3 separate regions of the Homo sapiens genome follow, and all the other regions are linked to region 1. Evidence: promoter capture Hi-C in human tissues and cell types (Jung and others, 2019). All regions are on one chromosome and are shown on one strand. The core of a region is centred on a gene start or on the middle of the fragment in contact, and the rest is flanking DNA. Distances in the headings are between cores, read along the strand shown. Region 1 holds the start of ZMYND12 (zinc finger MYND-type containing 12). Region 2 overlaps FOXJ3 (forkhead box J3). Region 3 overlaps FOXJ3 (forkhead box J3).

The links. Contacts are between HindIII fragments. The study calls those that stand out against the background at their distance.
Region 2: a fragment that was not itself captured here is called in contact with the fragment with the promoter of ZMYND12 in region 1 in 1 of the 25 tissues and cell types used here (dorsolateral prefrontal cortex).
Region 3: a contact is called between a fragment that was not itself captured here and the fragment with the promoter of ZMYND12 in region 1, in 1 of the 25 tissues and cell types used here (bladder).

The regions. Positions count from the first base shown.
Region 1 is chr1:42,453,963-42,458,263 of GRCh38, forward strand. It overlaps ZMYND12 (zinc finger MYND-type containing 12), which reads right to left and starts at 2,060. Exons shown (of 8, transcript NM_032257.5): 1 at 1,926-2,060. The coding sequence starts at 2,035. PPCS (phosphopantothenoylcysteine synthetase) reads left to right here and starts at 2,581. Exons shown (of 3, transcript NM_024664.4): 1 at 2,581-3,111; 2 at 3,285-3,388. The coding sequence starts at 2,604. It also overlaps a transcript of CCDC30 not described here. RefSeq lists enhancers at 2,182-2,411, 2,652-2,721, 2,812-2,931. The HindIII fragment of the contact is 5,227 bases long and covers 1-4,301 here.
Region 2 is chr1:42,263,396-42,267,696 of GRCh38, forward strand. It overlaps FOXJ3 (forkhead box J3), which reads right to left. Exons shown (of 13, transcript NM_014947.5): 4 at 1,720-1,794. Among named protein-coding and RNA genes, the nearest start is that of FOXJ3, 70 kb to the right of the region's middle. The HindIII fragment of the contact is 5,095 bases long and covers 1-4,301 here.
Region 3 is chr1:42,295,677-42,299,977 of GRCh38, forward strand. All of the region lies in intron 2 of FOXJ3 (forkhead box J3), which reads right to left. Among named protein-coding and RNA genes, the nearest start is that of FOXJ3, 37 kb to the right of the region's middle. The HindIII fragment of the contact is 3,640 bases long and covers 13-3,652 here.

The DNA.
Region 1 (4,301 bases), core at 810-3,309:
AAAAGCAAAGAAAAATGGTACTGTGAGAGAGAAAAGTATGACGGGGAGTTGAGACTGGGTTTAGACCTCTTTGAAGAAATGACATTTAAACTGAGAACTGAAGGATGAAAGGGAGCCAGGAAGGCTTGTAGTTGAAGGGGAGGTTCCTAGCAGAGAGAACAGACTGGGAAAAGAAACTGAGGGAAGAAAGGGCTTAGCAAATTAGAACTTCAGTTCTCTATAACTACAGCAAAGAAAAAATGGGGTGAGTGTGGTGGGAAGTGAAGGTAGAGAAATAACCAGGGCCTTGTATTTTCTGTTACAAATTCTTAATTATATTCTAAAGGCAAGGAAGCCACCAAAGAGGAGATAGCAATGAAAACACAGATACCATCCCTGCCCTTGTGGGGCATACAGCCTAATGAAAGAAATAAATAAATGATTTCAGTCCATGTCCTAAGTGTTAGGATAGGGGACATACTCAGTGCTTTGAGAGCACTGAGGAAGGACACCTAGGCCAGTATGAGAAGGTACTGCAACAGCTTCTTGATCTGTTATGCAGCCGTCAGTGTCTACCTTCCTCTGTATCTGCCACACTGCAGCCCATCCTCTTTCCTTAACACAAATGAGAGCATGTCAGCTCAAAACCATTCATGGTTTCCCAGGAGATAAATTCCAAACCCTTGATCTCATGTCACTGTCTAGCCCTAACCTTTATCTTCTTGGTTTAAACTTCTACTACCTATCACAATGATGTTCCAACTTTTTTTTTTTTTTTTGAGACACAGTTTCACTCTTGTTGCCCAAGCTGGAGTGCAATGGAGCGATCTCGGCTCACTGCAACCTCCGCCTCCCGGGTTCAAACGATTCTCCTGCTTCAGCCTCCCGAGTAGCTAGGATTACAGGTGCACGCCACCACATCCGGCTAATTTTGACTCAACCTATAGTAAGAAATACATTTTTCCTGTACACACACACATGTCCACATAAAACACTAAGACAAAAGTTTTAAGAAACAATTCAGGTAGGATTAACCTGATACTTTCTACTCATTCTGTGCTCTTTTTTGTTGTTGTTGTTTTCTCTAAATGGTGATTGTGACTTATTCATAAACTGCTAAAGGGCCCTGGCCTGCAGTTTGAAAATCACTGACTGCTCCCTCCACTACTACGTTCTCCACTCGGCCCTTAGCAAACTCTGTTCTTTTGCCATTTGCCCTAGCAGTCCCGGATGCCGGGAATGCCCTACCCTTCTTCACTACTCCTGTACACAGCAGGTTCTGACTGCCCTCTCAAAATGCAGCTCAAATGTTTCTTCCACAGGGAAAGCTTTCCACATACTGCCCCATTCACTATCGTCTCACTCTCGTTGCCCAAGCTGGAGTGCAGTGGCGCGATCTCCGCTCACTGCGAGCTCCGCCTCCCGGGTTCAAGCGATTCTTCTGCTTCAGCCTCCCGAGTAGCTGGGATTACAGGCGCCCAGCACCACTCCCGCCTAATTTTTGTATTTTTTAGTAGAGACAGGGTTTCACCATGTTGGCCAGGCTGGTCTCGAACTCCTGACCTCAGGCGATCCGCCCGCCTCGGCCTCCCGAAGTGCTGGGATTACAGGCGTGAGCCACCGCGCCCGGCCTGTTTCTTTACTGATTTGTCTCCCACATTGGAATGTTAGATCTTTGAAGGAACTGATCTACCGAGCTGCCCCAGTAACTTTAGCACCTAAAATAGTGCATAACACAGAGTACGCCTTCAGAAAACATGAGTGACGAATAAGTGGGAGATGAGACAGACGAGGCCACGGGAGTCTTAGGGGCCTGTCTTAAAGCCGTTTTGAGGTGTCCCTTGCAGAGTCAGGGGCAACGGCTAACGCAAGGTACCCAAGCCAGACCCGGGAAAGGGAGAGAGGGAGGGAGTTATAGCGCCCAGGTGCCACGTTTCAGGGCCTACCAGTAATAAGTGACTGTGCAGGCCGCGCACACCCGCTCGGCTGGGGCTTCGCACACCTCACAGCAGAGTCTGCGCCCCTTGGGGACTGCCAGTGGGTAGATCACATTCATGGTGCAGCCAGCAGTGCTGGTCTCTAAGACGGTTGCCCAGCAAGGATACGCTGAACCCCGGCGTCACGTGACGATCGCGGGGCTGCGTACTTGCCAGCATTTCAAGGGCAGAGGGCGGCGGGACGTGACTCGACTAACATCTGGGTGTATTGCTGAAGTTGGAAAAGGGGAAGAAAGAAAGAAAAAGCAGCACAAAACCCACAAGTCCCACGGGTCAAATGGCCGAGAAACGACTCCCAAGGAGTCCAAGTCCAGAAAGGCCCGTACAGTGGCCGGTAAGGGTCAAACATGGCCAGTTCTTCACCCAGGCTAGGAAACGAACGTGAGGGAACGTGACCCTACCAGATGCCCACCCAGCCGGGGATCCCCCTCGTTGCAGTGTCACTTTCGCTGGGCTCTGGGGCAGAACAACTACGCATTTCCAGACTTGGCGAGATCGGGACCTAGTGTCAAAAGAAGGGTAGTGAACCGCCCACTCAGTACGGCGCGGCGCGTACACCAGGTAGGCGAGAAGGGGCGTGGCGCGGCGGCCGCGAAACGTGCGCAGGCGCCGGCCGCTGCGCTGCAGATGGCGGAAATGGATCCGGTAGCCGAGTTCCCCCAGCCTCCCGGTGCTGCGCGCTGGGCTGAGGTTATGGCTCGCTTCGCGGCCAGGCTGGGCGCGCAGGGCCGGCGGGTGGTGTTGGTTACGTCAGGCGGCACCAAGGTCCCACTGGAAGCGCGGCCGGTGCGCTTCCTGGACAACTTCAGCAGCGGGCGGCGCGGTGCAACCTCGGCCGAGGCCTTCCTAGCCGCCGGCTACGGGGTCCTGTTCTTGTATCGCGCTCGCTCTGCCTTCCCCTATGCCCACCGCTTCCCACCCCAGACTTGGCTGTCCGCTCTGCGGCCTTCGGGCCCAGCCCTTTCGGGCTTGCTGAGCCTGGAGGCCGAGGAGAATGCACTTCCGGGTTTTGCTGAGGCTCTGAGGAGCTACCAGGAGGCTGCGGCTGCAGGCACCTTCCTGGCAGTAGAGTTCACCACTTTGGCGGACTATTTGCATCTGTTGCAGGCTGCGGCCCAGGCACTCAATCCGCTAGGTGCGTGCCCTAGGAGTACCCCTTTTGCCTGGAAGCACAGCCTTTCTTTCCAGCCACTTATCCCCTTACCTCCTGCTTACCCACGGATCTCAGCTGGGGAACCCGAGTTGAGAAGGAGCTGATCCTATATCGTACCTCGCCGATTTGTTAACACCTTGTGTTTCTCTTTGCAGGCCCTTCTGCGATGTTTTACCTGGCTGCGGCTGTGTCAGATTTCTATGTTCCTGTCTCTGAAATGCCTGAACACAAGATCCAGTCATCTGGGGGCCCACTGCAGGTGATGGGCGCTTCTCTTCCAGAGATCTAATCCCATATAACCAATCTTGGGTTAATTTCCTCTTGATCTGGAGATGGCCTTTCTGCATCTGTATTCGCTAGGCACAGGGGATACAGAGATGAATAAGACACCGCCCTCCCTCATGGACCTCACAATCTAGTGAGGGAGCTGGACACAGACATAATTACAATACAGAGTGATAAATGCTCTAGTGGAGGTATGTACAAAGTGCAGTCAGATCATGGGGCGAGTGAATCCTGGGGGAGTCGATGAAGCTTCTTGGAGGAGATGAATTGAACTGGGTTTTAAAAGATGAGCAGAACCGAGCGCGGTGGCTCACGCCTGTAATCCCAGCACTTTGGGAGGCCAAGGAGGGCAGATCGCCTGAGGTCAGGAGTTCGAGACCAGCCTGGCCAACATGGTGAAACCCCGTCTCTACTAAAAAAATACAAAAATTAGCCGGGCGTGGTGGCAGGCGCCTGTAATCCCAGCTACTCGGGAGGCTGAGGCAGAAGAATCGCTTGAAACCAGGAGGCGGAGGTTGCAGTGAGCTGAGATCTCGCCATTGCACTCCAGCCCGGGCGACGAGAGCGATACTCCGTCGCAAAAAAAAAAAAAAACACCAAAAATCAAAACAAAATGAGCAGAGGGTGTACGAAGTGGGAAAGGTCATTCCAGGTGGAGTATGGCAGTAGGAATTTGAAAGTGGGCAGTGGGCTGTGAACCGAAGTGCTTTGGTAAGGCTGGAGAGCTGACTGAAGAGATGGCTTGCTTTGTAGAAGACTTTATTTTCCTTTTTTAAGGAGCTTGGACTTTTTCTTGTGGAGCTAAGGGACACATAAGTAGGAGAATGAGATAAAGTTTTTGTTTGAGAACAACATTCTGGCATCAGTATGAAAGACGAAGTAGAGAA
Region 2 (4,301 bases), core at 696-3,195, 190 kb before region 1:
CTGAAGTCTCTTAAAAATATTTTTCAGTCTGATTCATATATACTCATTGCCTATAGGAAATGTGATAAAGAATTTATTTTTAAAATCTAATTATCTTTTTGTAATAAGCCTCCTTTCCTTTAAAGGAAAAGGTGCACCAATTCCTATTCAGAATCTCAAAGTTAAAAACATAGAGAAACAATTTCTTACAAGACTATTATAATAATCTGTTCAATCTTACTGAGAACCAACTTGACGGAGCAGACAGATGATAAAAAGTGCTATAAAATGTTCATTACTTCAGAAAAACTGCCTAAAGATAGAAACGAATAACTCTTCATCTCTAACTTCAAGAAGTTAACAGTCTAACAGAGGATACAGTATATTCATTCATTCAACAAGGGTGTCTCCTCAGTGCCATCAGCCACTGTGCAAGCAACTGGGTCTAAACAGTGAACAAGATACACATGAACCCTACTTGCATAAATTTAGATTTTAAGGGCAGTAGATAACTAACAAAGAGCTTGAAAAAAAGAGACCATATGAGTAGGTTAACTTTTTTTTTTTTTTTTTTTTTTTTTTTTGAAGATTGCTGCCTACTATGTGAAAGTTAATATAAACTGGAGGGATCGAGCCCAGCCATTGAGAGTCCAATTAGGAGCTACTACAATGATGACGGTCGCTACAAAATAAAAAGAACTCAAAAGAGGGAGCAACAAATTCAGCTGAAGTATGGGGAAACAAAAAAGCCTCAGAGAAGTCATGTTGCAGCTCAATACTGAAAGATAAGAAGCAGTCTAGACAAGTAAAGCAAGGAAATTTGTACAGAAGACCATATGAATAGCATGTTTGGAAAACTTCAAGTAGTTCTTCATGATGAGTCTTGAATGAGGTGAATTATAGCTAGAAAGGCAGATTGAGAAAAAAACAGTAAAGAATATTTTACAAGAAGAGAAAGTAAACACCTCCTGGACACTAAGGAATACTTTTAAGCAAGGTGCTTACATGACCAGGGTTACATTTTAGAAAGATTCTTCCAAAATCAGTTAGCCTAAAAACAAATATAAGAAGTCTAGCCACCTAAACAAGCATCGTGCTTCCCAATAAATACACTGTCTCAAAGTCCTAATCTAGTAACTTACCTTGACAACCAAATACAGTACAACCAAGTACTCTTAAGTTTCAGAGACCAAGCAACTAGGACCAAGTTCAGGTCACACTATAGTTGACTAGCTATTAAAACAACAAAAAAAGGGAGGAGTCACCATAGAAAAAACGCTAAAAACGTGAAAAATGCAGTGGTGTCAGGAGATAAGAAGAGTCAAGTACAGAATACTCTTCTTGATTACACTCAGAAATGGGCTAATAACAGAGAAACTGTTTTATTCCAGTGTAAGAATACTTCCACTTTTTGCCAGTTACACAGAGATGCACCCCTTATATGTAATAATGAATTATGGTTCCTGACAAGCAGCTCAATCACCAAATTTAATTTAATACACAATACTTCAACCAAAGATTAGATTAGAAACAGCAAAGTACAACAGCACTGTGGTGTGCAACAGCTATACACTAGTTAGGTTCCCACAGCTTAAAACTCTCTAACAAGCTTTAGAGCAGGGTGGGGGAGGACTTACTATTTTGCAGAGGTTCCTATTCAATGAACTGGAAAAGTTCTTAATTCAAACATGACAAGTGACATACTGAAGAATTCAACTGTTTTAAGAAGATGAATCCTACCTTTCCAGGGTCATCCTTAGATCGAGGCACTTTAAGGAAACATTTGTTCAATGACAGATTATGTCGTATGGAATTCTGGAATTAAAGAAGAAAAGCCATAAGGTCAATAAAATCCAAAAAACATAACCCAAATTTAAAAACAGAATTAGAAATCTAAACATCTTTATGCTTTGCAAAACAATTACAAATGGAATAAACTTTTTAATCAGCTTAAAATTTAAATCTTTCTGACTTTCAAATTATGAATGCTATGAGGGGAAGCTGTTACTGGAAAATAATTTCTAGAGGATTTCATAAAATGTAATATATGTAGCATTTTAAGTGCTTATGACTTTTATTGATACAGGAAGATGCCTGTAATGTAATGTTAAATATTAAATTCCAAATATAAAATTGGCATATTATGATACATATTATGACTTTAATTGTGGTACTTATTTTATTTATTTATTCTTGGAAATAAGCCAGAATGCAAAATGTAAGAAGTTACTCTACATGAAATTAAAGATGATGACTATTTTCTTCTCTTTACTTTTCTGCAAAGTCCAAATGGTCTGCAAGACACATGTATTACCACTTATTAATTAGTTTAAAAAATGCTTTAAAAAAACATTCACTGCTCTATTACAAAAAAACATATAGAACCCTATTAGGTTCTCACCACAATCTGTAAAAAAGAAAACCACATGGAAAGATACTGGCTACAGGGAGCTGGGAAGAACATCTAAATTCTTCATTGTAGCAGGGAAGAACACCCAAGGTGGGTAGCAGGAAAATGCCCTTGGAAACCTGCAGAGTCTGTGAAAAAGAAATTTGTTCATGAATAGGTAGGACTGTACCCCAATTCTTACAGAATATGCCCCAAAGTCCATTTCTTCTCAATTAAATGCTCCAAAACCCATTCTCAAATTATCTTGGTTTGTTCCCAAATGGCTAGTATTTGGGAGAGAAGAGGTCCAACTGCATTTAGCCATTACTTAGAATGGTACCTTCTGGGATCATATTTTGACATAATATCTGCTTTATTGTTTAATATAAAATTCAGTAGTCTAACAAGAATGCCTATAATAAAACTTATCTCCCTCAGGCACAATATTGGAATTTTAAACGTTTTTAAAAGATGACTACAGAATATAAATTCAAGACCATCTATTACCAAAGCAGAAATTTAAAACTTATGCTTGGGATGTAAACAGCTACAAAGAATGATGCTCTCTCCCAAAGAGAAAACCCTAGGTAAGCTTTAAAAAAAATAAACAAAAAAAACCTATTTTTAAGCCACATCAGAGAGCTCAGGTTGCAAGGCAACCAAACCACATTCCTAAGAGGAGCAAGGCTATTCAATGAGAAACTGGACACACAACTAAATCACCTTTGGCAGAGCACAGGAAAAAGAGATGGCCACCATCCAAGCAGTTAAAAAGAAATTAGCTAAAATTTTAAAGGCCAAGCGTGGGGCTGTCACTTTAGAGCAACAAGAACCCCAGACACGAGAAGTTCCCACACACTCTTAAGCTCTTCTCCATAGGTCTTTACCATGTGTTCCTAAGAAAAAATAGGGGTAGGAAAGGAGACCCAAGAAAGTCTCCCCTAGTGGCATAAACAGGAAGAAAGTGATTGACAGTGACAGGCAGTGAGGAGACAAAGCCCACCAACCTTCCATAGATTTTACAAAGCAAAAAAACAAGTTTGCAGTAAAGGCAGCAAAACCTGTCACCCATAGGACTCTGGCAAAGATTCACTGCTTCTGGGGGAAGAATGGAAACAAAACCCTGGTGCCTCTAGGAAGGGATAGGAAACCCTTACCCAGTACATAGGCAAAGATGTTCTGCTGCTGGAGGAAAAGTAGAAGCAAATCCCTTGAACTCTGGGAGAGGTATAGGAAACTACCTTGGGCCCAGGATCCTATACAGATACCATGTAGAGGTCTGCTACACCTGGAGAAGAGGCGCGAAACTCTCACCCAAAAGTAACTACAGATACACAAGACTAGTCTGGCTGAGGGAAGAAACACTGAAACAGCCCACCCTAAGTTCGAGGGTCTGCATAAGACTAAGGCTGGACCAACACAACAGAGAAAACTCCTTGCCTCTACCAAAAGCATACCACTGAATAACAAGCAAACACAGTCTACTGACAGAGAAGGGACGAGAAATCCCCATGTGTAAAAAGGTGGGCAGAGACAACTAAAATCTAAAGAGATGAAAAAACAAAAAAATCCTACCGCACCCTCTCCAAGCACAAATTAACAGGAGCCCACTGCTGGAGGAATGTAAAGTTTGTGGTATACTGAAGATAAAGACATAAATTTTAAAAAAATCCACATTACTGACAGACAGACTCAATCCCCACAAGAACGGCCTGAGAAAAAAGATGCTTGTCCATTCACAAGTACAAGTACTATTTAACTCAACGTCTACCATTCTTCTACACAGATATCTGGTCTCAGGCAACAATTATAAGACATAGAAAAGAAAGGAAAACTTACTGCCAAGAGATAAAATAATCAACAAAACCCAAGAGAAGACTCAGGTGTTAGAACTATCAGAAAAAAAAAATTAAAATAACCATGCTTAATATGT
Region 3 (4,301 bases), core at 583-3,082, 160 kb before region 1:
CACCACCTTGTCTGAGTGATTTTTCTATTTTTAGTAGAGACAAGGTTTCACGATGTTGGCCAGGCTGGTCTTGACTCCTGACCTCAGGTGATCCGCTGCCTTGGCCTCCCAAACTGCTGGAATTACAGGCATGACCCACCGCACCTGTCCAGGTGTCTTTTGTATATAGTGATTTATTTTATTTTGGGCAGATACCCCCAGTAGTGTGTTTACTGGATCAAAAGGTAGTTCTATTTTTAGTTCTTTGAGAAATCTCCATAGTTTTCCACAGAGGTTGAACATTCCCGTCAGCAGTGCGTAAGCACTGCCTTTTCTCCACAACCACACCAACATCTGTTATTTTTTGGCTTTTTAACAGCAATTCTGACTGGTATAAGATGGTATCTCATTGTGATTTTAATTTGCATTTCTCTGATGATTAGTAATGTTGAGTATTTTTTTCAAGTGTTTGTTGGCACTTGTATTTCTTCAAGAAATGTCTCATGTCCTCTGCCTAGTTTTTAAAAGAAGCTGTTTTTTCCCCGTTATTAGAGTTCCGTGTAGATTCTGATGTTCATCCTTTCTGAAAGTAATCATTTGCAAACATTTTCTCCCATTCTATAGGCTGTTTAATCTGTTGAGTATTTCTTTTGCTGTGAAGCTTTAGTTTAATTAAGTCTCATTTGTCTATTTTTGTCTTCCTCATAAATTCTTCGCCTAGGCCAACATCCAAGAGTTCTTCCTAAGTTTTCTTCTAGGACTTTTATAGTTTAAGGTCTTATGTTCAAGTCTTTAATCCATCCGTCCTGAGTTAATTTTCATACATGGTGAGACACAAGGGTCCAGTTTCCTTCTTTTGCATATGGCTAGCCAATATCCCAGCACCATCTATTGAATAGAGTGTTAATGTCCTTTCTCCACTGTTTATTTTCATCAACTTTGTCAAAGATCAGTTGGTTGTAGGTATGTGGCTTTATTTCTAGGCTCTCTATTCTGTTCCACTGATCTCTATGCATATTTTTGTACCACTATCATGCTGCTTTAGTTACTATAGCCTTGTAGTATAATTTGAAGTCAGGCAATCTGATGCCTCTGAATTTGTTCCTTTTGCTTAGGATCGCTCTGGCTGAGTGCTTTTTTGATTCCATATGCACTCCAGTGCTGTTTTTCTAATTCTGTGAAAACTGATGTTAGTAATTTGAAAGGAATTTCATTGAATCTGTAGATTGCTTTGAATAGTATGGTCATTTTTGTGATATTGATTCTTCCAATCCAACAGCACAAAATGTTTTGCCATTTGTTTGTGTCATCTGCAATTTCTTCCATTGGTGTTATATAGTTCTCCTCGTAAAGATCTTTCACCTCCTTGGTTAAATGTATTCCTAGGGGTGTGCGGGTGTGGGTGTGTGTGTGTGTCTACTGTAAATGGGATTGGGTTCTTGATTTGGTTATCAGCTTCAAAGTTATTTATAGAAATGCTACTGATCATTGTACATTGATTTTGTATCCTGAAACTTCAACGAAGTCTAGGAGTCTTTAGACTTTTCTAAGTATACAGTCATGTTATCAGGAAACTTCCTCTTTTCCAATTTGGATGCCTTTTATTTCTTTCTCTTGCCTAATTGCTCTGGCTAGGATTTCCAGTACTATGTTGAACAAGAGTGGTGAGAGTGGACATCCTTGTCTTGTTCCTGTTCTTAAGGAGAATGTTTTCAACTTCTCCCTTTCAACATGATGTTGTCTGTAGGTTTGTCATATATAGCTATTATTTTAAGGTACATACCTCCAGTGCCTAGTTTATTGAGGGTTGTTATGAAGCGATGTTGGATTTTATCAAATCACTTTTCTGCATCTATGGAGATAATCATACAGTTTTGGGGTTTGGTTCTATTTATGTGGTGAATCATGTTTATTGATTTGCATATGCTTAAACATTCTTGCATCCCTGGAATAAAACCCACTTGATCATGATTTATTATCTTTTTGATGTGCTGTCGGATTCAGCATTTGTTGAGGATTTTTGCACCTATGTTCATTAGGGATATTGGCCTGTGGTTTTCTTTTCTGGTTGTGTCCTTGCCTGACTTTGGTATCTGGTGTCCTCACCTGACTTTGATACTGGTGTCCTCACCTGACTTTGATACTGGTTTTGTAGAATGAGTTAGAAAGGAATTACTCCTCCTCAATTTTCTGAAATAGTTTCAGTATTCTTTCCTAAATACCAGCTTTTCTTTATATGTCTGGCAAAATTCAGCTACAAATCTATCTGGTCCTGGCCTTTTTTATTGTTAGAAGGTAATAAGGTTTGGCTGTGTCCCTACCCAAATCTCACCTCGTAGTTCCCCTAACTCCCATGTGTCATGGGAGGGTTCAGTGGCAGGTAATTGAATCATGGGGGCAGTTACCCTCATACTGTTCTCTTGATAGTAAGTTCTCACGAGATCTGATGGTTTTACAAGGGGCTTCCCTCCACTTTGCTCAGCACTTCTCCTTCCTGCCGCCATGTGAAGAACATGTCTGCTTCCCCTTCTGCCATGATTATAAGCTTCCTGAGGCTTCCCCAGCCCTGTGGAACTGTGAGTCAACTAAACCTCTTTCCTTTATAAATTACCCAGTCTCAGGTAGTTCTTTATATCAGCATGAGAACAGACTAATACAGAAGTTTTCCTTTATTACTGATTGAATTTTGTTACTTGTTATTGGTCTGTTCAGGATTCACATTTCTTCCTGGTTCAATCTTGCGAGGTTGTATCTTTCCAGGAATTTGTGCATTTCCCCCAGCTATTTCTAGTTTATGAGCACAGAAATGTTCACAGCAGTCTCTGATGATCTTTTGTATTTCTGTGGTGTCAGGTGTAATGCTGTCTTTATCATTTCTGCTTATATTTAAAACTTTTTTTTTTCTTGGTTAACTTAGCTAGCAGGCTGTCAATTTTGTGTATCCTTTCAAAGAACCAACTTTTTGTTTCACTTATCCTTTGTATCATTTTTTTATCTCATTTAGGTCTGCTCTGATCTTTGCTCTTTTCTTCTGCTAGCTTTTTGTGTGGTTTGTTATTTTTCTAGTTCCTTGATGTATGGTGGTAGCTTGAGATCTTCCTATCTTTTTAATGTGGGCATTTAACGCTATAAACTTTCCTCTTAGCACTGTCTTTGCTGTATCCCAGAGGTTTTAGTATGCTGTGTCTCCATTTTCATTTATTTCAAAATTGTTTTCAATTTCCGCCTTAATTGCATGTTTACCCAAAGTTCATTCAGGAGCATGTTGTTTAGTTTCCATCTACTTGAATAGTTTTAAGAGTCCCTCTTGGTATTTGATTTCTAATTTTATTCCACTGTGCTCCAAAAAGATACTTGATCTGATTTCAGTATTTTGGAATGTATTGAGACTTGCTTTAATGGCCAAGCATATGGTCAATTTTGGAGAATGTTCCACGTGCAGATGAGATTAATGTATGTTCTATAAATGTCTATTAGGTCCATCTGGTCTACAGTTTAGGTCCAGAATTTTTCGAATTTCTGCCTCAGTGATCTGAATAGTGATGTCAGTGAGGTGTTGATGTTCTCCACTATTATTGTATTGCTATCAATCTGTTTGCTTTGGCCTAGCAGTATTTATGAATCTGGGTGCTCTGGTGTGGAGTGCATATATATTTAGGATAGTTAAATCTTCTTGTTGTATCAAACCCTTTATCATTATATAATGCTCATCTTTTTTTTTTTTTACTGTTATTGGTTTGAAGTTTATCTGATACGAGAATGGATACTACTGCTGGCATTTGTTTTCCATTTGCATGATAAATCTTTTTTCACCTCTTTGAGTCTGTAACTGTCTTTAACCAGTGTGTGTGGGGGGGTCTCTTGCTGGCAGCAGATGGTTGGGTCTTTTTTTTTTTTTTTTAATTTGCCACTCTGTATGTTTTAAGCGGAGCATTTAGGCCATTTACATTCAAGGTTAATATTGATATGTGGCTGGGTGTGGTGGCTAATGCCCGTAATCCTAGCCCTTTAGAGGCCAAAGTGGGCGGATTACTTGAGGTCAGGAGCTCAAGACCAGCCTGGCCAACATGGCAAAACCTCATCTCTACTAAAAAATACAAAAGTTAGCCAGGTGTGGTGGTACACACCAGTAATCCCAGCTACTTGGGAAGCTGAGGCAGGAGAATTGCTTGGACCCAGGAGGCAGAGGTCGCAGTGAGCCAAGATCATGCCACTGCACTCCAACCTGAGCAAGACAGCAAGACTCCATCTTAAAATATATATATAGGACAGGCACAGTGGCTCACACCGTAATCCGAGCACTTTGGAAGGCCCAGGTGGGC